Linked DNA regions of Homo sapiens: regions 1, 3, 4, 5, 6 and 7 are each linked to region 2. The links are contacts of gene promoters, found by promoter capture Hi-C in blood cells and fetal thymus (Javierre and others, 2016). All regions are on one chromosome and are shown on one strand. Each heading gives the region's core, a stretch centred on a gene start or on the middle of the fragment in contact. The rest is flanking DNA. Distances are from core to core; before and after follow the strand shown. Region 1 has its middle 24 kb from the start of LINC00895. Region 2 holds the start of ESS2 (ess-2 spliceosome associated protein). Region 3 overlaps CDC45 (cell division cycle 45). Region 4 has its middle 60 kb from the start of SEPTIN5. Region 5 has its middle 62 kb from the start of LINC00895. Region 6 overlaps UFD1 (ubiquitin recognition factor in ER associated degradation 1). Region 7 has its middle 44 kb from the start of LINC00895.

Region 1 (2,700 bases), core at 170-2,669, 450 kb after region 2:
TTTTAATTTTTTTTAGAGATGGGGTCTTAACTATGTTGCCCAGGCTGGTGTTGAACTCCCGGCCTCAAGTGATCCTCCCACCTTCGTCTCCCAAAGTGATGGGATTACAGGTGTGAGCCACTGCACCCGGCCACATTTATTCCTTTTGATCGCTGAACAGTACTCCTCAAATGATTTTTTAAAAATAACTATCTTCTTCCTCATGACCTGCTGGTAACTCCTAGAACAGTGATGGAGGAGAATTATGGAATGGTCCTTCTAAGCTCCTGAATAATTAAACCAGTGAGCAGAGCCACTGTCCCATCCCGTTGGCCACACCAGACACTTGGGAATTATTTTTGGTTCCTTCTTCTACCTCTTTTCAATTCCAATAATTACCAAGTTCTATCAATTTTAATCCCCTAATATCTCTCTAATCGATCTCTTCAGTTGCTATTTAAGTAACTCTTCATTTCTTCTCACCTGTGTTACTACAGAAATTCATTTTTCTATAGTTTTGCCTTCCATCAATCCCTTCTCCATCTTAAACCAAACTGATCTTACTGAGAGGAATGTTGTGATTTCCTCTCTCTCTCTCTCTCTGGAATGAATATATACATACATACATATATATATATATATATATGTGTGTGTATATATATATATATATATGTGTGTGTGTGTATATATATATATATATATATGTGTGTGTGTGTATATATATGTATATATATTCCAGAACCTTTTCATCACCCTAAAGAGAAACTCTGTCCCTAAATCCCATTCCCCCTCCCCTAGCCCCTGGTAACCACCAACCACCATCTCACTTTCGCTCTACAAATTTGATTATTCTAGGTACCCCATATAACGACTCGTACGGTATTTGTCCTTTTGTGTCTGGCTTATGTCACTTAGCCCAATATTTTTCAGGTTTATCTATGTTGTGTCATGTGTCAGTATCAGGATTTCATCTCTTTCTGAGGCTGAATGATGCCCCACTGTGTTTATCCATTCATCTGTTGGACACCTGGGCTGCTTCTATCTCTTGCTATTGTGAAGAATGCTGCTGTGAACATGGGCGCACAAGCTTCTGTTCCAGTTCCTGCTTTAATTATCTAGGGCATACACTTAGGACTGGGATTGATGGCTCATATGGTAATTCTGTGTTCAAATTTTTGAGAAACCACCTAACTGTTTTCCACAGCGGCTGCACCATTTTGCATTCCCACAAGCAATGCGCAAAGGTTCCATTTTCTCCAAAACTGGATACAGTGAACAACAATGAAGGTTTTTGGTTTTAAACATATATACATATGTTGTTTATATGCTCTACACACATCTCTGTGTGTGTATCTTAAAATGGGTGCCAGTGACTCGCCATTCAGTTTTGGGCAACGTGGACTCTCGGTGCCTCAGTTTCCTCACCCCTAATGGAGGTACTGATACTGTTATCATTCTTGAAGTGATTGTGCAGTTTAAATGAGCAAATATATGTAAATGACTTAAGTGGGACCTGACAAATGCAGATGCTATAATGTAAGGATGGCTGATCTCATTATTGTTGTCATACTATTACTGAAAATCAGTGTGAATGAAATCTCTAAACTTTGCAATCAACACTGCTCACCTGGGTCTCCGTAGAAGCTGCAGCGAGCTGGGGCTGAGGCAGACAAGCCTGTGGACATGAGAACAGATGCATGTGCTCCTCAGACAGACAGACAGTAGGGTGTTGTGGAAGGGGTCATCTTTAGAGGCCACATACTGTAGTCCATCTCCCTCACAGAGCAGGAAGGTGAAGCTTGCCAAGCCTGAGGGAATCCTCCAGCCCAGACATCCTATGAGGGCATTGCCAGGACTTGGGGGTAGTGCCCTCGCTCCAGGCATGTCTTTTCCCCATCCCTTGAGCAGGAAGAAGCACAGCAGACAGCAGGGTGCATGCAGAGTACCTGGCAGAATCGCCTCGGTAGTGAGAACAAGCCTGCGTGATGCTGCAGGTGCCCCTGACTGTGACTGAGCCTGGCTTCACACACCTGGGTTTCCTCATGGCTGTTTTCAGCAATTTGGTTACTGTGGTCCCAGGATGCATAGCCTCTCAAGATTCCACAGAACAGCCTGGTCCAGCATGAAGGCTACACGGTGCCTGGTGCCATCTCTCAACGTGTTTGTTAAAAGGGAAGCTTTGTGGCCTCTTCATCTAATATAGAGGGCCTTCAAATTATAGACTTCCAAGTCCATAGCTATAGAGATTTTCATTTTAAAATATATGTATTGGCTGGGCATAATGGCTTACGCCCGTAATCACAGCACTTTAGGAGGCCAAGGCGGGAGGATCACTTGAGGCCAGGAGTTCAAGACCAGCCTGGGCAACAGAGTGAGACCCTGTTTCTCCTAAAATAAAAATTAAAAAATTAGCTAAGGATGGTGGCATGCACCTGTAGTTCCAGCTACTTGGGAGGCTGAAGTGGGAGGATCATTTGAGCCAAGGAGTTTGAGGCTGCAGTGAGCTGTGATTTCACACTGCACTCCAGCATGGGTGACAGAGCAAGACTCTATCTCTAAAAACAAAACAAAATAAATAAAATACAGTAAAAAATAGTGTGTTGTGTTGTGGGGTCTGATGCGGATGTCTACAGCTCTTCATTCCTAATGCATCTGCTGTTTTTCCAGCTCCCCCTGAGGCCACGGGCCACACAGGCCACAGGGGCTCTGCCTGCCCAGCTG
Region 2 (2,700 bases), core at 195-2,694:
AAAAAAAAAAAAAAGAAAAAAGAAAGTCGGAGCTGCAGTCTGGGTGCTCCTGCCTCACAGGTCCACTGCTGTACATGCTAAGGAACTTGCTGAACCTCCTTCAAATTCTACTTCCCCAATGACTGGGGCTGGATTGAGGGAGCTTGAGGGCACTTTCTAGTGGGGTTGAGCATCCCATATGGTAGCCATGCTGCAACCTCTAACATTACTAAACACTCTTCTGAAGTCCGTGAAACCCTTCTCTCTCGCCCTTGCTAACTGGTCATTCTCATTCTCCATTGCTGGCTCCCCACAAGCCAGACCAATGTGGGTGTTGTCACTTTCATTCCACACATGACTTTCTATTTCCAATCTAAACCTTTCTCCTGGCGGGGCATGGTAGCTCACGCCTGTAATCCCAGCACTTTGAGAGGCCAAGGCGGGCGGATCACCTGAGGTCAGGAGTTCGAGACCAGCCTGGCCAACATGGTGAAACCCCACCACTACTAAAAATACAAAAATTAGCCGGGCGTGGTGGCGGGCACCTGTAGTCACAGCTACTCGGCAGGCTGAGGCAGGAGAATGGCTTGAACCCAGGAGGCAGAGGTTGGTTACAGTAAGCCGAGATCGCGCCACTGCACTCCAGCCTGGACGACGAGCGAGACTCCGTCTCAAAAAATAAAATAAAAATAAACCTTTTTCCTGAGTAACTTCAGCCAGTCACTACCACAAGTTGAGATTCCCAAGTCTGCACCTCCAGCCAGACCTTGCTCCCGAGCTGCATATCTGGGCACCCAACCGTCCGTTAAAGCCATCCATCTACATATCCCAAAAGGTGTCCCGAATTAAACAGGTCTAAAACCAAACTGACTTCCGCCAATCCCCGTTTCAGCTCCTCCTTCTGTGTGCGTGTGGTGGGGCGACGCAGGTCCACTCACTCGAGATGCTGTCACAACTGCGGTCTCTTTCCAGGAACCCCAGCATTCACACTTGCTGCCACCGCTCTTTAGAAAGCCCTCTTTGCCACCATCCTTCCAGTTTGTCAAACTCCTACTCACACTTTAACAGAAAATCTTCTTTCCCTGACCCCCGTCCCATACAAAGAGAGCCGCTCTCTCTTTTCCCTGACAACACTACTACAGCCTCTTCCACCACAGACGTCTTCCTCTGCCCTGTTTACTTGACTCGTGGGACCGTCCACACCCGGCTCCTCCACTTCCACGAGGAGACGGAGTGTCAACACCCGAGAGAGGGAACCTGAGAGGAGCTTGAAGCAGAGGATGGGCCCAGAAGTCGCCGGCGTCCGCACCGAGGTCGTACCTCGATATACTCTTCCTCGTCCAGGACCCGCTGCTTGCTCGTCGCAGCCCCAGCCTCTCCCGCCTCGCGCTTCCTCGGGGGCCTGGACGCGGCGGGAAGCAACAAGGACGACGCTGATGCGCCCGGCGTCTCCATCGCTATCCCAGGAAAAAGCTCGGGCCCAGCAGGCGCGTCACAGGGTGGAGGGGGCGGGACTGCACCATTTGCGCAGGCGCCTCCAATAGTTGGCCAATGGAAAAGCTGTGGCTCTAGAAAGCCAGCCCGCGCTCCGTTCTGACGTCACTATAAATGCTAGACTTTATTGGAAATGTAGTCCTTGTCCTGCCCCGCGCTATTCATGCTTGTCAATGCTGTGAACACGAGGGGGTGCTGTGGAGGTGGCGGGGAGGATGCTATAGGGCGTGTTCTTCACGCGAGAAATTCTGGCTTTGCAGCGTCCAAAGGCCTTAGAATTCTAATTTCCCACAAATAAGAACTATGTATGCTTCGAGATTATTCTACAAAAATACAAACCAGGAAATTTACTTATATAGGAGTTTCAAGCTTTATGCAAGAAAAGGGCCTTAAAACAATTTTTTTTTTGAGACGGAGTTTCGGTCTTGTTGCCCAGGCTGGAGTGCAATGGCATGATCTCGGCTCACCGGAGTTCCCGGGTTCAAGGGATTCTCCTGCCTCAGCCTCCCGAGTAGCTGGGATTACAGGCATGGGCCACCACGCCCGGCTAATTTTGCATTTTTAGTAGAGACAGGGTTTCTCTATGTTGGTCAGGCTGGTCTCTGGATTACAGGCGTGAGCCACCGCACCCGGCCAAAACAATCTTTTTTTTTTTTTTATAGTTATCTAACAAAAGGTGAAAGAACAAGACAGTGGTTCGATTAAGAAATGTCTAAAGATTATTCTGTAATCCCAGAACTTTGAGAGGCCAAGACAGGCGGATCACCTGAGGTCAGGAGTTCTAGACCAGCCTGGCCAACAAGATGAAACCCCATCTCTACTAAAAACACACAAAAAAATTAGCTGGGCATGGTGGTGGACGCCTGTAATCCCAGCTACTCGGAAGGCTGAGGCTGGAGAATTGCTTGAACCCAGGAGGCGGAGGTTGCAGTGAGCTGAGATTGCACCATTGCACTCCAGCCTGGGTAACAAGAGCAAAACTCTGTCAAAAAAAAAAAAAAGATTATTGGGCCCCCAAATGCCAGAGTGGGCTTCCCAGAAGAGGGATCATTCTCATTCAAGACCAGGCACGGTGGCTCACGCCTGTAACCTCAGCACTTTGGGAGACCCAGGCAGGTGGATCACTTGAAGTCAGGAGATTGAGACCAGCCTGGCCAACATGGTGAAACCCCAACTCTACTAAAAAAAAAAAAAAATACAAAGTGGTGGTAGGTGCCTGTAGTCCCA
Region 3 (2,700 bases), core at 133-2,632, 340 kb after region 2:
ACTCCGTCTCAAAAAAAAAAAAAAAAAAAAAAGAGTTCTGCTGTAAAGAAAAGAGGAGACATGGGGTCGAGAATCATTTTTACTTGTCTTTTAAAGGTTGGATGTTAGAGCTGGACCCCAGCAAAGATGAGAGTCCGCTATAAAAATAACCATAATTATACTTAATCTACAGGTGCTATAATATCGTGGCTCAGGTCACGGGTTTCAAATTTTGTATCTGCTATAACAGCTTTGTGACTGTAGGCAAGTGACTTAACCTCTGTGTGCCATTGTAAAATAAGGAGAATAACTAGACTTAATTGTTTTGGTTCCTACTGATGTTTAACAAATTACTCCAGAACCTAGCAGCTTAAAACAACCTTTTCCTTATGCTCATGGATTCTGTAGGTTAGGAATTTGGGCAGAGCCCAGTGAGGATGACATCTTTTTGATCTGTGATATCTGGGCCCTCAGGTGGGGACTCAATGGCTAAGAACTGGAAGCATGGCTCAGACATCTGCTGGGAGGGCTCCAAACCAGGACTACTGAGCCAAGCACCTGCAGGGTCTCTCCATTGAATGTGACTTCCTTACAACATGACTGCTCAGGCTTCCAGCATGAATATTCCAGTCACCCGGGCAGCCACTGCATGGCTCTCCCGACCAGCCTTGGAGTACCTCAGCATCCAGTAGCCACAAGGGAGGGGACAGGACCCCACCATGCATTGTGGCAGGGTCAAAGAAATCTCAGGCTGTGGGAATTTTGTTACTTTATTGAGGCATAATGTCTACACAATTCACTAGGTGGTACAATTCAATGAGATTTAACAAATGTATAAAGATGCAACCACCATCCCACCATGATAGAGAACAATTCCATTACCCGCAAAAAGTTTCCTCACCAGGACCATGGCTTTTTTTTAATTAAAGTTTTTCTTTTGAGATAATTACAGATTCACATGTAGTTGTAAGAAGTAATATAGAGAGATCACTTATATACTTTGCCCAGCTTCCCCCAATGGTAAAATCCTGTAGTATAATATCACGGTCAGGATGGGAGGCTAAGGCAGGCGGATCACTTGAGCCCAGGAGTTGGAGACCAGCCTGGGCAACATGGCAAAACCCTGTCTCTACAAAAACTACAAAAATTAGCCAGGTGTGGTGGTGCACACCTATGGTCCCAGCTACTTGGGAGGCTGAGGTGGGAGAATCACCTGAGCCCAGTAAGTCGAGGCTGCAGTGAGCTGTGAGCACACAACTGCATTCCAGCCTGGGCAACTGAGACTATCTCTAAAGAAAAGAAAGTCTCCTTTCTAAATTTATAAATCATGTGATTTTTCAGTTGGCACTCTAAAGGTTAGAAATCACTGTGAAAGTTCTGCCAGAAACTGAATATGTCTATTCCATTTATGCATTCAGAAACTGCCAAAATAACCCATGGGTATTGCTTTAAAAAAAAAAAAAAAGATACAGAACATTTCCAGCACTGTAAGGATCCCTCTGTTGCCCTTTTATAGCCACACCCACTTGTCTGCTGCCTGGTAACCACTAGAGAGCTCCATTTCTGTAATTTCATTTCAACAATATTATGGAAATGGAAATGGAATTATACAGTATGTAGCCTTTTGGGATTGGCTTTTTTTCGCTCTGCATAATTCTTGGAGATTCATCCATGTTTGCTTGTATCAATGGCTCATTCCTTTCTCGTCCATCAGCATTGTGCAGTTTTCAGTGTATAAATTTTCTGTTTTTGTTAGATTTATACCTGCATAAAAACAAACAATATTTATTATTTCTGCGTGCTAGCCATAAATACGTGGACACCAAAATTTAAAATACAGTATCATTTGCAGTCAGTCAAAAAAATGCATAGTCTGCTGTTGTTGGGTAGAGTTTTTTAGAAATGTCACTTACATACTGAGAGTTGGTGGTGGTGTTGAGTTCTGTTTGCTTGCTGCTTTTCTGGCTAGTAATACTTTCAACTCTTCAGAAAGGGACATTGAAGACCCCAACTCTGATTATAGATTTGTTTGTTTCTCCTTCCAGTTCTATCACTTTTTACTTCACGTATTTATAGCTCTCTTGTGCGCACACATTTAGGATTGTGGTGTCCTTTTGGTGGATTGACCCTTTTATTCACTTAGTGTCCCACTCTGTCTCTGGTAATTTGCTTTGCTCTGAAGTGTGATTTATCTGATATTAATATTGCCACTCCTGCTCTCCTTTGATTAATGTTTGCACGATATATCTTTTCACATTCTTTAGTTTCATTCTGCCTATATTGTTACATTTGTAGTGAATTTTTTAAAACAGCATACAGTTGGCTCATATTTTTAAATCATGTTTTTTAAAGCCATTCTCTATCTCTTAATTGATAAACTTAGCTTACTTACATTTATTTTAGTTACTGACATGTTAGGGCTTAAGTCTGACATTTTATTTTCTGTTTCCTGGTCTCTGTTTTTTTTATTCTATTTTTTTCTTGTTCTTTGTTATTTGTATTTTTATTTTTTTGAGATGGAGTTTCGCTCTGTTGCCCAGGCTGGAATGCAGTGGCGCGATCTTGGCTCACTGCAACCTCTGCCTCCCAGGTTCAAGCAATTCTCCTGCCTCAGCCTCCTGAGTAGCTGGGACTACAGGCACGTGCCACCACGCCCAGCTAATTTTTTGTATTTTTAGTAGAGATGGGGTTTCACCTTGTTGGGCAGGCTGGCCTCAAACT
Region 4 (2,700 bases), core at 56-2,555, 510 kb after region 2:
ATACTGTATGTTACAGTAAAGTAAGCTAGAGAAAAGAAAATGTTATTAAGAAAATCACAAGGAAGATAACATATGCTTCCTATTCATTAAGTGAAAGTGGATCATCATAAAGATCTTCATCCTTGCTGCCTTCACATCCAAGGAGGAGAAGGAAGGGTGGGGTTAGCCTTGCTGCCTCAGGGGTGGCAGAGGCAGAAGAAAATGTGTTCATATGTGGACCTGTGTCATTCAAACCTGGGTTGTTCAAGGATCAACTGTAATAATGCAATACTCCCCAAATTGATCTACAAACTCAGTGCCACCTGACTTCTTTGCAGAAATGGGCAAGCTGATCTTAAATTCATATGGAAATGTAAGGGGTCCAGAATAACAAAAACAATCTTGAAAAACAAAATAAGAGCAATGTTGAGGACTCACACTTGCTGATCCCAAAACTTGCTACAAAGCTATAGTGAGGGAGACGATGTGACACTGGCATAAAAATAGACATATAGGCCGGGCGTGGTGGCTCACACCTGTAACCCTAGCACTTAGGGAGGCCAAGATGGGTGGATCACCTGAGGTCAGGAGTTTGAGACCAGCCTGGCCAATATGGTGAAACCTGGTCTCTACTAAAAATAAAAAAATTAGCCAGACTTGGTGGTGTGCGCCTATAGTCTCAGCTACTTGGGAGGCTGAATCACTTGAACCCGTGAGGCAGAGGTTGCAGTGAGCAAAACTCTGTCCAAAAAAAAAAAAAAGAAAGAAAGAAACCCCATCTCTACTAAAAATACAAAAATTAGCCAGGTGTAGTGGCTCATGCCTGTAATCCCAGCTACTCAGGAGGCTGAGGCTGGAGAATTGCTTGAACCCGGAAGGCGAAGATTGCTGTGAGCCGAGATCGCGCCACTGCACTCCAGCCTGGGCAACAGAGTGAGACTCTCTCAAAAAAAAAAAAAAAAAAAAAGACATATAGATGAATGGAATGGAATTTAGAGTCTAGAAATAGACCCTCATATTTATGGCTAACTGAGTTTTGATAAGGATGCCAAAAAGACTTAATGGGGGAAAGAGTATTCTTTTCAACAATTGTGCTGAGACAACTGGATATATCCACATGCAAAAGAATGAAGTTAGGCTCCACCTCATACCATATACAAAAATTAGCTCAGAATTGATCAAAGACTAAGTATAAGAACTAAAACTATAAAAGTCTTAAAAGAAAATAGAGGTATGAATCTTCACGACCTTGGATTTGGCAATGGTTTCTAAGATACGACATCAAAAGCATAAGCAACCAAAAAAATAGATAAATGATAAATTATTAAATAAATTATTTAAAAATAAAAGTATTCATTAAATCAATAAATGTAAATACTTTTATGCTTCAAAGGACTCTATAAAGAAGTGAAAAAGACAACACAAAGAATGGGAGAAAATCTTTGCAAATCATACATATGTAAGTCCCTGATGGAACTTGTAACTAGAATATAAAAATAACTTTTGCAACTCAATAATAAAAAGACAACACAATTTAAAAATGTACAAAGGAGCTGAGTGTGGTGGCTCAGGTCTGTAATCCCAGCACTTTGCGAGGCTGAGGTGGGAGGATCACTTGAGCCCAGGAGTTCAGGACCAGCCTGGGTGGCATTGTGAAATCCTATCTCTACTAAAAATATATACACACACACACACAAAATAGCTGGGTGTGATGGCACACACCTGTAGTCCCAGCTACTCAGGAGGCTGAGGTGAGAGAATCACCCGAGCCTGGGAAGTAGGGGCTGCAGTTAGCCGTGATGACATCCACACTCCAGCCTGGGTGATGGGAGTGAGATCCTGTTTTAAAAAAAAAATGCACAAAGGACTTGAATAGGCATTTCTCCAAAGATATGCAAATGGCCAATAAGCACATGAAAAGATGCTCAATGTCATCAGCCATCCGGGAAATGCAAATCAAAGCCACAATGAGATACCCCCTAGGATGATGGCTATAATCAAAAAGATATTACAATAATAAGTACTGGCAAGGATATGAAAAAACTGGAACCCTCATGCACTGCTGATGAGAATATAAAATGATGCAGCTGCTGTGGAAAACAGTTTGGCAGTTCCTCGAAAAGTTCAACATTGAGTTATCACAAGACCCAGCAATTCCACTCCTGGGCATATACTTAAAAGAATTAAAAATGCGTGTGGGACACAGTGGTTAACACCTGTGATCTCAGTGCTTTGAGAGGCAGGAGGTTGACTTGAGCCCACGAGTTGGAGGCTGCAGTGAGCTACGATCGTGCCACTGCACTCCAACACAGGTGGCAGAGCAATATCCTGTTTCCACATATATGTTTATAAACATATATACATAATAGTCAAAAGATGGCCATCAACTGATGAGTGGATTAAAAAAACGTAAAAGATCCATACAGTGGAATATTATTTAGTCATAAAAAGGAAAGGCCCAGGCGCTACCTAAAATATACCAAGCCCCAGGTTTACATAGGGCCCCAGGTCACACTAGGCTCTAGGTAGACACTGGACTCTAAGTAGACTTTAGGCCCCAGGTTCACAGCCACACCTCAGGAGGATACCACACCCCAGGTAGCTGTAAGACTCAATCCAGACACCAGTCCCCCGGTGGAGAATCTACGCCCCAGCTGGACATCAGGTTCCAGGTAAACACCAAGGCCCAGTTGGGTTTACTGGATCCATTGGTGGACATCA
Region 5 (2,700 bases), core at 41-2,540, 480 kb after region 2:
CTCCATCCCCCAAGCCTGTCTTCTGCTTCACTTTGCCAAGACTCTGCCTTGCCCCAGTGTTGGAGCAGGATGCCAGATGGCAAGATGGGCTTATGGGCTGGGTCTTCTGTTTGGTCGCGGCAGAGCCCATGGCAGCTGTAGGAACTTTGACGGGGAAGGGGCAGGGGCGGGAGCAAACCTGTAGCGTGAAAGTATGTGAACGCTCTGTCATGGAGGGCACCCCAGGCCGTGTCCAGGCCAGCTTCACCCTGTCTCTGGGAGAAGGAAGCCTGGTCAGAGCTGAGGAGGCTCCAGGGCACCAGGCCTTGTCCCTCTTGCGCCTGGGCGTGATGCTCCCCAATGGCGTGCGCCAGTCCTGGGACCATTGCTGCCGGCCGTGTGTCTTCTTCCAGGGTGCAGAATCCCTTGTCAAGCTGGGTGGTTTGATGCCAGCCCCTGGGCCTCGAAGCTCCCTTCCTGATGGAGTGCTGCCATTTGGAAGGGGTAACTTTCGTGGTCATTTTTTTAAATCATGGTAAAATATACATAACTACATAACATAAAATTTACCATTCTTCCTTTTCTTTTCTTTTCTTTTCAGACGGAGTCTCGCTCTTTCGCCCAGGCGGGACTGCAGTGGCGTTCTCTCGGCTCACTGCAAGCTCCGCCTCCCGTGTTCACGCCATTCTCCTGCGTCAGCCTCCCGAGCAGGGGACTATAGGCGCCCGCCACCGCGCCTGGCTAATTTTTTGTATTTTTAGTAGAGACGGGGTTTCATTGTGTTAGCCAAAATGGTCTTGATCTCCTGACCTATTGATCCGCCCGCCTCGGCCTCCCAAAGTGCTGGGATTACAGGCGTGAGCCACCGCACCCGGCCAAAATTTACCATTCTTTCTAACCATTTTAAAGTGTACAGTTCTGTGGTATTAAGTACATTAACACTGTTGTACAACCAGCACCACTGCCCATTTCCAGAAGGTCTTCATCTTCCTAAACTGTAATTCTGTGCCCATTAAACTCCCCATGTCTTCTTCTCCCAGCCCCTGGCAACCACGATTCTACTTTCTGTCTCTGGGAATTTGACGACTCTTATAATTGGAGTCATGCAACTTTTGTGTCTGGTTGGTTTTACTCAGCAGAATGTCGTTTCATCCATATTGTGGCCTGTGTCAGAAGTTCCTTCCTGTCAAAGGCGGAATGATACTCCATGGCAGGTTTACACCACATTTTGTTTTTCCACTCATCCGTGGAGAGACACTGGGTGGGTCCCTCCTTTTGGCTGTTGAGAATGATGCTGCTGTGAATGAAGTGGTTAGAAGGGGGCTTTCAGACGTGTGAAAGGTGTCTTTGGGAATTTTAATTTCAGCTCCCACAAATGAGTAAAATTTGTCTTTCTGTGCCTGGCTTATTTCACTTAACATAATGATCTCCAATTCCATCCATGCTGTTGCAAATGATAGGATCTCACTCTTTTTTCATGGCTTCGTAGTACTCCACGGTGTATTTGTACCACATTGGCTTCACCCATTCGTCTGTTGATGTTCGACACCTTATTATTATCGACTGTAGTCACCCTGCTGTGTAATAGATCTCTTTTCTTTTTTATTGATATTTCAGAATTGTGCATATTTTGGGGCACATATGATATTTTGATACATGTATATAATCTATAATGTTCTAATCAGGGTCGTTGGGTTATTCATCTCCTCAAACATTTGTTTTTTCTTTGTGTTGGGAACATTCCAATTCTAGTTATTTTGAAATATACAGTCCGGGCGTGGTGGCTCATGCCTGTAATCCCAGCACTTTGGGAGACTGAGACAGGTGGATCACCTGAGATCAGGAGTTCGAGACCAGCTTAGCCAACATGGTGAAACCCCGTCTCTACTAAAAAATACAAAAAATTAGCTGGGCGCAGTGGCAGGCACCTGTAATCCCAGCTACTCAGGAGGCTAAGGCAGGAGAATCTCTTGAACCTGGGAGACGGAGGTTGCAGTGAGCTGAGATTGTGCCACTGCACTCCAGCCTGGGCAACAGAGTGAGACTCCGTCTCAAAACAAAACAAAACAACCCCAGAAATACACAATTCATTATCGTTAACTATAACTTTCCTACTCTACTTTCAAATACTAGAACTTATTCCTTCTACCTATATTTTTTAATCCCTGGTGATCTCTTTTCTTATGGGAGCAGTGTGCGCCCTGATGGTGTAAGGTGGAAACCCGCCCCTTGTTGGAACCAGGATTGAATATCACCGCACAGGAGCTGAAGGTTCCCACCCGGCAACGTCCCCCCTTGGCTGTGAAGCAGAGAGCCCAGGGCTGCTCGTTTCCAGTAGTCCTCCTGGCAGAGCACCGCTGAGGAGGGTGGTGAGGGGAGGAGAAGATGCATTCTGCAGGGAGAAGCATCATAGTGGGGGCCGGGGACTCTCCTGCGTCTCCTAATTGCCCGACTGTCATGTGACCGATCAGTGCACTCCGAGCATTACACAGAGCAGTCATCCAAAGAGAGGCAGCGCCTCACAGCCCTTGGCTGGAGAGGAGAATGGAGGCTGGAGGCTCCAGAAATTTGGGATGGGAGGAGAAAAGGAAACAGAGGTGCCCCTTCCCCTGTCTTATTGCAGGGAATCAGTAAAACGACTACTGGAGTTCACTGGCTTCTCTGAATCTTTGTAGAATTTCTCCTGCACCTCTGATCCCATCCAGCTGCAGACACAGTGCC
Region 6 (2,700 bases), core at 2-2,501, 330 kb after region 2:
ACCGGATGAGCACAATGTGGCCTCAGGCCCTTGGGGGCACCTGCAGACAAACACAAGAATAGCAAGGGGCTGAGCAGCAAATACTGGGGAGGGCAGGTGAGCCAATCTGGGCTTTGAGGCATAAAAGCCCCCCAACAGGCCAGGTTGGGCAGGCCTAGTCAGCTGAGGTGAGGAGGCAGCATGGGAAGGCCAGGCACTAGGAGGTGCAATGGGAGTGCAGGGCTCTTGTCGGGGAGACACTGGCCAGGCCCAGACCTTGGGAAGGACCCTGGGACCCAGGCTGAAGAGGATGCCACTACCATGGCAGCATGGGCAAGGTCACCTGCTACAGCAGGAAAGAGACCTTCAGAATTTTGATTCATATTATTGTTGTTTTTTTTTTTTGAGATGGAGTCTCGCTCTGTCGCCCAGGCTGGAATGCAATGGCATGATCTCGGCTCACTGCAACCTAAGCCTCCTGGGTTTAAGCCATTCTCTTGCCTCGGTCTCCCAAGTAGCTAGGACTACAGGCACGTGCCACCACACCCGGCTAGTCTTTGTATTTTTAGTAGAGACGGGGTTTCACCATGTTGGCCAGGCTAGTCTCGAACTCCTGACCTCAAGTGATCTGCCCACTTTGGCCTTCCGAAGTGCTGGGATTAGAGGCGTGAGCCACCGTACCTGGCCAGAATTTCAATTCATATTTAATCTCAGAAAATATTAGTTAAGGCCATCCCTTCTGAACGTCTGGCGGCCACCATGATAGGGCATCAGCAGGAGAGGTGGGCTGTGCTTCAGACCACCTCCCTGGTGGCAGCCAAGCAAGCACTCCTGAGAGTTTCCAGCCCACAGCTCACTGCGGGGTCTCTCAGTATGCCTGATGTAATCCAAGCACAAAGAGAAGGACAAGCAGGTCCCTTTGTGAACTTCCCTAATGTGCCAGAGCTGGGGAGAGGAGTGAGGAGAAGAAGGAGCCAAGTGGGCCACAGCTACCTGTGTGGAACTCTCACTGCTGCAGGCTCCTCCCTACAGCACTGGCACAGTTCTGCTCACTTCTCTGAGGGGTACAGCCTTGAGGGCAGGCTCTGGTGGCTCACACGCCCTGGATATCCCAGCCCAGATCTGCAATGACATCCTTCAAGTCAACTTTCCAAAGAGAGCCTGCTTGTAAGGAAAAAGACGTCACTCCCATGGCAGCTCAGTTGAGAGATTTGGGAGACTACGTCAGAGGTAACTGAAAACATGTATGCTGTGACAGACTACTAAAAGTAGGGGAAAAGCATAAAAACCTCAAACACCCTACTTACTAGACCACCTAAAAAATACTGTTGCTCCATTATTTTTAAAAACGCCTCACCCAGGAAATCACAGATGAACAGTTCAGCTGCGCAACTATCAAAGAAAAGGCCACTCCCACAGCACAGTGGCCCACAGGTGCGTCCAGAGCCCACCAGCCCGCATAAGGCACAGTGCACTGCTCTGGATCCCTTCTCTCTCGCTGGGTCGGCTCAGGCTAAGACGCTGAGCAGGAGGAGTAGGCGGGGCCACCTGCTCCAGGGCCAGGACTCTCGAGTGCAGGAGATGTCTCTGCCTAAGTGGCTGCTCTCTAGAGACCCTGGCAGCCCCACTCACCCAGTGTGGGAGGTAGCAGATGCCCTCATCAGCCACAAACTCCAGCACGCCACAATGCGTCATGCGGTCCGAATTCTTATTGGTCAGTTTGAACAGCATGGGATAGGTAATGTTAAGTCGGCCTGAAAATAAGAGAGAGACTATGAGGCACAGCTCCTATGAAGGGACACCTGTTCGGCCCACGCCTTCCCATAGAAGGAGCCTCCCCACAATCCTGCCCTCAACCCCACACTCCTCTGGCAGATGAATCCCCCTCTGTGAGAGCACAGTGCACGGCTCAAGGAGGAACCTGGCAACTTGGTAACACAGCACTGGCATAGACTTGTGATTTTCTGAAGTCAACATTTTAAAAAGTGATGTGTTCATTCATTTATTCATAAATAATTTCAGTGCCCACCATGCCCTGGACAAAATCCCGACCTTCAAAGGTTTCTAGTTTGAAGGTAGAAACCTTCCAACAAAGAAAACCACAACCAGATGCTGCAGGTGCTGTGGGAAGAGCTGGCAGGAGGGGGCAGAGCTACTGGGCTAGGCTCCTAGAGGCCGAGTTCTTTAGGCTGGGCACTGGGCGGGCAGACCTGGGAGGAAATCCAGGCAGAGGTGGCAGCCTGAGCAAAGGCGTGGAAGGGAAGAGGAGCCCAGGCAGTTCAGAAATGGTGGATAATTAGGCAAGACAGGCTGGGGACAGGTGTGCGAGTGGTTGGGAAGGGGAGGGGCACCACACGGGGTAGAACCTAGGGCCTGGGCCCAGCGGGCAGTGTGAGCTCTCAGCAGGGTCATGACATAGGACGCCCCCTCTCTCTGATGGACCTTGAGGTGTGGGCTGAAAGCAAGGCCAGAGGCAAGTAAGCTGGACTGGTGACGTGCTGACCCAAGAGGTGCACAGGCACATAAAGGAAGGGCTGGCAAAAAGAGGCAGGAAAACCCAGGAGACACTGGGCCCCCGGGAGAAGACCGAGAAGGAACTGATGGTAGTGATGGTGTTTGCCATGTGTAAGGCCCTTGTTCAGTCTTCCCAGAACAGTCAGGTAGGTACTATCATTATCCCCTTTTATCTATGGGGAAACTAAGGCCCACAGGTTAAGTAAC
Region 7 (2,700 bases), core at 194-2,693, 470 kb after region 2:
GTCCCAAAAAAAGAAAAAAAGAAAAGAACTCTTCATCTTGCGTGAATATTAAGCATTTTTTGAAAAACAAAAGGAGGCCAGGCATTGTGGCTCATACCTATAGTCCCAGCACCTGTATTATCAAGGCCCAGGGTGTGTGCCTGGGTGTGGCTTCCTTCCTGGGAAGGATCACTTCAGTCCAGAAGTTCGGGACCAGCCTGAGCAACATGACAAAACCCCGTCTCTACAGAGAAATGCAAAAATTAGCCAGGCATAGTGGCACATGCTTGTAGTCCCAGCCACTCTGGAGGCTGAGGCAGGAGAATTGCTTAAGCCAGGGAGGTGGAGGTTGCAGTGAGCTGAGATTGCACCACTGCACTCCAGCCTGGGCAAAAAAGTGAGACCCTGTCTCAAAAAATAAATAAAAAATAAAAAAGGAAAGGAAAGAAAATAAACAGAGCAAGGTTCTCTTCAAAATTTAGCTGCAGCCAGGTGTCGTGGCTCATGCCTGTAATTCCAGCACTTTGAGAGGCCGAGGTAGGAGGATCACTTGAGCCCAGGAGTTTGAGACCAGCCTGGGCAACATAGTGAGACCTTGTGTCTACTAAAAAAAGAAAAAATTTAAAAAACCAGGCATGGTGGCATGTGCCTGCAGTCTTAGCTGCTCAGGGAGCTGAGACGGGAGGATCCCTTGAGGCCAGTTCGAGGCTGCAGTGAGCTGCGATTGTTGCACTGCACTCCAGCCTGGGTGACAGAGCAAGAACTTTCTCAAAAAAAAAAAAAAAAAAAAAAAGGCCGGGTGCGGTGGTTCCCAGCACTTTGGGAGGCCGAGGAGGGTGGATCACTTGAGGTCAGGAGTTGGAGGTCCCCCCTGGCCAACATGGTGAAACCCCGTCTCTATTAAAAAATACAAAAATTAGCCAGTTGTGGTGGCATATGCCTGTAATCCCAGCTACTCAAGGGCTGAGGCAGGAGAACCGCTTGAACCTGGGAGGCTGAGGTTGCAGTCAGCCGAGACTGCTCCACTGTACTCCAGCCTGGGCAACAGAGACTCTATCTCAAAAAAAAAAAAGGCTCAGCTGCCAGGAGCCAGCATTTTTCCTCTTCCCATCATTCCCTTTCTGCAGCCAACTCCTGCCCCTCCTCATGTGCATTGTGGGGGCTGTCACAGCCCTGTGGCTTCTGTGGGGCGGGGGCACAGCGGTGACTGCTGCCCAGGGTAGAGCTTGTGCAGAGGCTGGCTCCCCATGACCTGCCTGCTCCTGAGTAAGTCACTGACTCCCCTGCAGCTCTTAGCAAGCCAAGGGACAGGGCTGCTTGCTCTGCAGATTGGTGAGGTGAGGGACAACCCCCCAGCCTAGCGGCTCTAGTGCTGTGGGAAGGTGCAGTCTGCGGCAGAAGGGCCCAGGGACTTGGCCTGTTAAGGGCCACGCCAGGCTGTTTCCTTCATGTCTCACCTGCAGCACCACCACACCTGCCGCTGGTGGAGCCCCTCCCCCCTCACACCCCCACTTCTGCTCCTTAGCAGGTCTTAGTTCTCATTTTGCATCACAGTGGGCCATGTGGTTTTCCACAAAACAAGAGGGAGAAAGGCAATAATACAGTGGCTTTCGATTTGTTTCGATTTGTAGTAGTAAAGTCTTTCTTTAAATAAAATCTTCCCTGGTAATTGTGTCATGGAAGAAATAAGCAAAGCATCTCTAGTTGAGGCAGCCAGGGTGCCTCCCCGTGCTGGGGCGCCCCCACTCCCAAAGCCCGTATGCCCAGAGGCCCCTCCACTGACCCAGGAATTTGTAAACCCTCGCCTTGGTGTTCAGCAGGAAGCTCACACAGGGGCAGCAACAAGCCCCACCGCCACCCCAATCCCCCCACTACGCCTACATTGAGGCTGCCCTCGAGGTGAGTTCATGCATACAGAAGTCCAAATTTAGACCACACGTTGGGGGTGATACTGCCTGAGGTATGAAGATAGGATTTGTCTGATAGGCAGATGTAAAGGCTGGAAATTACCTGCATGCTAAAAAGCAAAACAGAGATTCCAGGTTCCCATGGTGGAGGGAAGCACAGAATCTAGTAAGACAAACCTCCCAGAAACTCACCGCAGCAACCAAGTTGAAGAGAGGAACAACCACAGGCCTCGAACTTCAGGAGCCCATGGTCAGGGAGAAACAGAAGATTCGGGTGCAGCAGGGCATGGCTCCCAACAGAGGCGTGAGGATGATGTGAGGCTGGGGTCTTAGGGGCTCCAGCTCCCCTGCTAATTTGGAGAGATGGGGGCTAGAGGCAGCCCTAGGAAAGGATGGGAAGGAGCTGCAGCCCCCCAGCACTACGAGTCTCGGTCCTGGGTGGCTGGCGAGCCCTGGGGCACTGTGCTGAGGGCACCGTGGGCCTACACTCGTGGCCAAGCGGCGGCCCCTGGGTGGCCTACACTCGTGGCCAAGCGGCGGCCCCTGGGTGCTCCTCTCTGCTGCCATCACCGCCTTCTGCCTGGCTTTGTGTCCTCTCCCATCCCCTGCTGGGCTCCATCCTGCACAGGCCCTTCCCATGACCCACTCCCCTTCAACCCATGTCTGCTGCTGACCCCCCAGCCTAGCCTGGGGTCCCATCCTTCCTGCTGGCCCTTCTGCCTCCCGTTGCCTCCTCAGCCCACCCTGGTTTCCCAGGCCTGCGACCGGCTTCGGACTCAGCGAGGCTCACATTCAGGAGTAAAGCTGAGGACCT

The links. The method cuts DNA at HindIII sites, captures the fragments that hold promoters and counts their contacts. A CHiCAGO score of 5 or more calls a contact.
Region 1: a contact is called between a fragment that was not itself captured here and the fragment with the promoter of ESS2 in region 2, in 4 of 17 cell types (naive CD4 T cells, total B cells, naive CD8 T cells and 1 more). The highest score is 6.1, in naive CD4 T cells.
Region 3: a fragment that was not itself captured here is called in contact with the fragment with the promoter of ESS2 in region 2 in 5 of 17 cell types (total B cells, fetal thymus, naive CD8 T cells and 2 more); the score reaches 7.8 in total B cells.
Region 4: a contact is called between a fragment that was not itself captured here and the fragment with the promoter of ESS2 in region 2, in 2 of 17 cell types (erythroblasts and M0 macrophages). The highest score is 6.2, in erythroblasts.
Region 5: a contact is called between a fragment that was not itself captured here and the fragment with the promoter of ESS2 in region 2, in 16 of 17 cell types (total CD8 T cells, fetal thymus, total CD4 T cells and 13 more). The highest score is 44.5, in total CD8 T cells.
Region 6: a contact is called between a fragment that was not itself captured here and the fragment with the promoter of ESS2 in region 2, in 9 of 17 cell types (total B cells, naive B cells, naive CD4 T cells and 6 more). The highest score is 14.5, in total B cells.
Region 7: a fragment that was not itself captured here is called in contact with the fragment with the promoter of ESS2 in region 2 in 10 of 17 cell types (total B cells, naive CD8 T cells, naive CD4 T cells and 7 more); the score reaches 10.9 in total B cells.

What each region holds. Positions count from the first base shown.
Region 1 is chr22:19,589,068-19,591,767 of GRCh38, forward strand. No RefSeq gene overlaps it. Among named protein-coding and RNA genes, the nearest start is that of LINC00895, 24 kb to the left of the region's middle. The HindIII fragment of the contact is 711 bases long and covers 1,065-1,775 here.
Region 2 is chr22:19,143,207-19,145,906 of GRCh38, forward strand. ESS2 (ess-2 spliceosome associated protein) reads right to left here and starts at 1,445. Exons shown (of 10, transcript NM_022719.3): 1 at 1,300-1,445. The coding sequence starts at 1,434. RefSeq lists an enhancer at 514-1,020. The HindIII fragment of the contact is 3,418 bases long and covers 1-1,840 here.
Region 3 is chr22:19,487,901-19,490,600 of GRCh38, forward strand. The region is part of intron 5 of CDC45 (cell division cycle 45); the gene reads left to right. Among named protein-coding and RNA genes, the nearest start is that of CDC45, 9.3 kb to the left of the region's middle. The HindIII fragment of the contact is 7,762 bases long and covers 1-2,700 here.
Region 4 is chr22:19,652,894-19,655,593 of GRCh38, forward strand. No RefSeq gene overlaps it. Among named protein-coding and RNA genes, the nearest start is that of SEPTIN5, 60 kb to the right of the region's middle. RefSeq lists a silencer at 524-747. The HindIII fragment of the contact is 4,518 bases long and covers 1-2,700 here.
Region 5 is chr22:19,627,130-19,629,829 of GRCh38, forward strand. No RefSeq gene overlaps it. Among named protein-coding and RNA genes, the nearest start is that of LINC00895, 62 kb to the left of the region's middle. RefSeq lists a cis regulatory region at 373-453. The HindIII fragment of the contact is 4,083 bases long and covers 1-2,700 here.
Region 6 is chr22:19,470,076-19,472,775 of GRCh38, forward strand. It overlaps UFD1 (ubiquitin recognition factor in ER associated degradation 1), which reads right to left. Exons shown (of 12, transcript NM_005659.7): 4 at 1,612-1,733. Among named protein-coding and RNA genes, the nearest start is that of UFD1, 7.8 kb to the right of the region's middle. The HindIII fragment of the contact is 3,344 bases long and covers 1-2,700 here.
Region 7 is chr22:19,609,292-19,611,991 of GRCh38, forward strand. No RefSeq gene overlaps it. Among named protein-coding and RNA genes, the nearest start is that of LINC00895, 44 kb to the left of the region's middle. The HindIII fragment of the contact is 5,630 bases long and covers 1-2,700 here.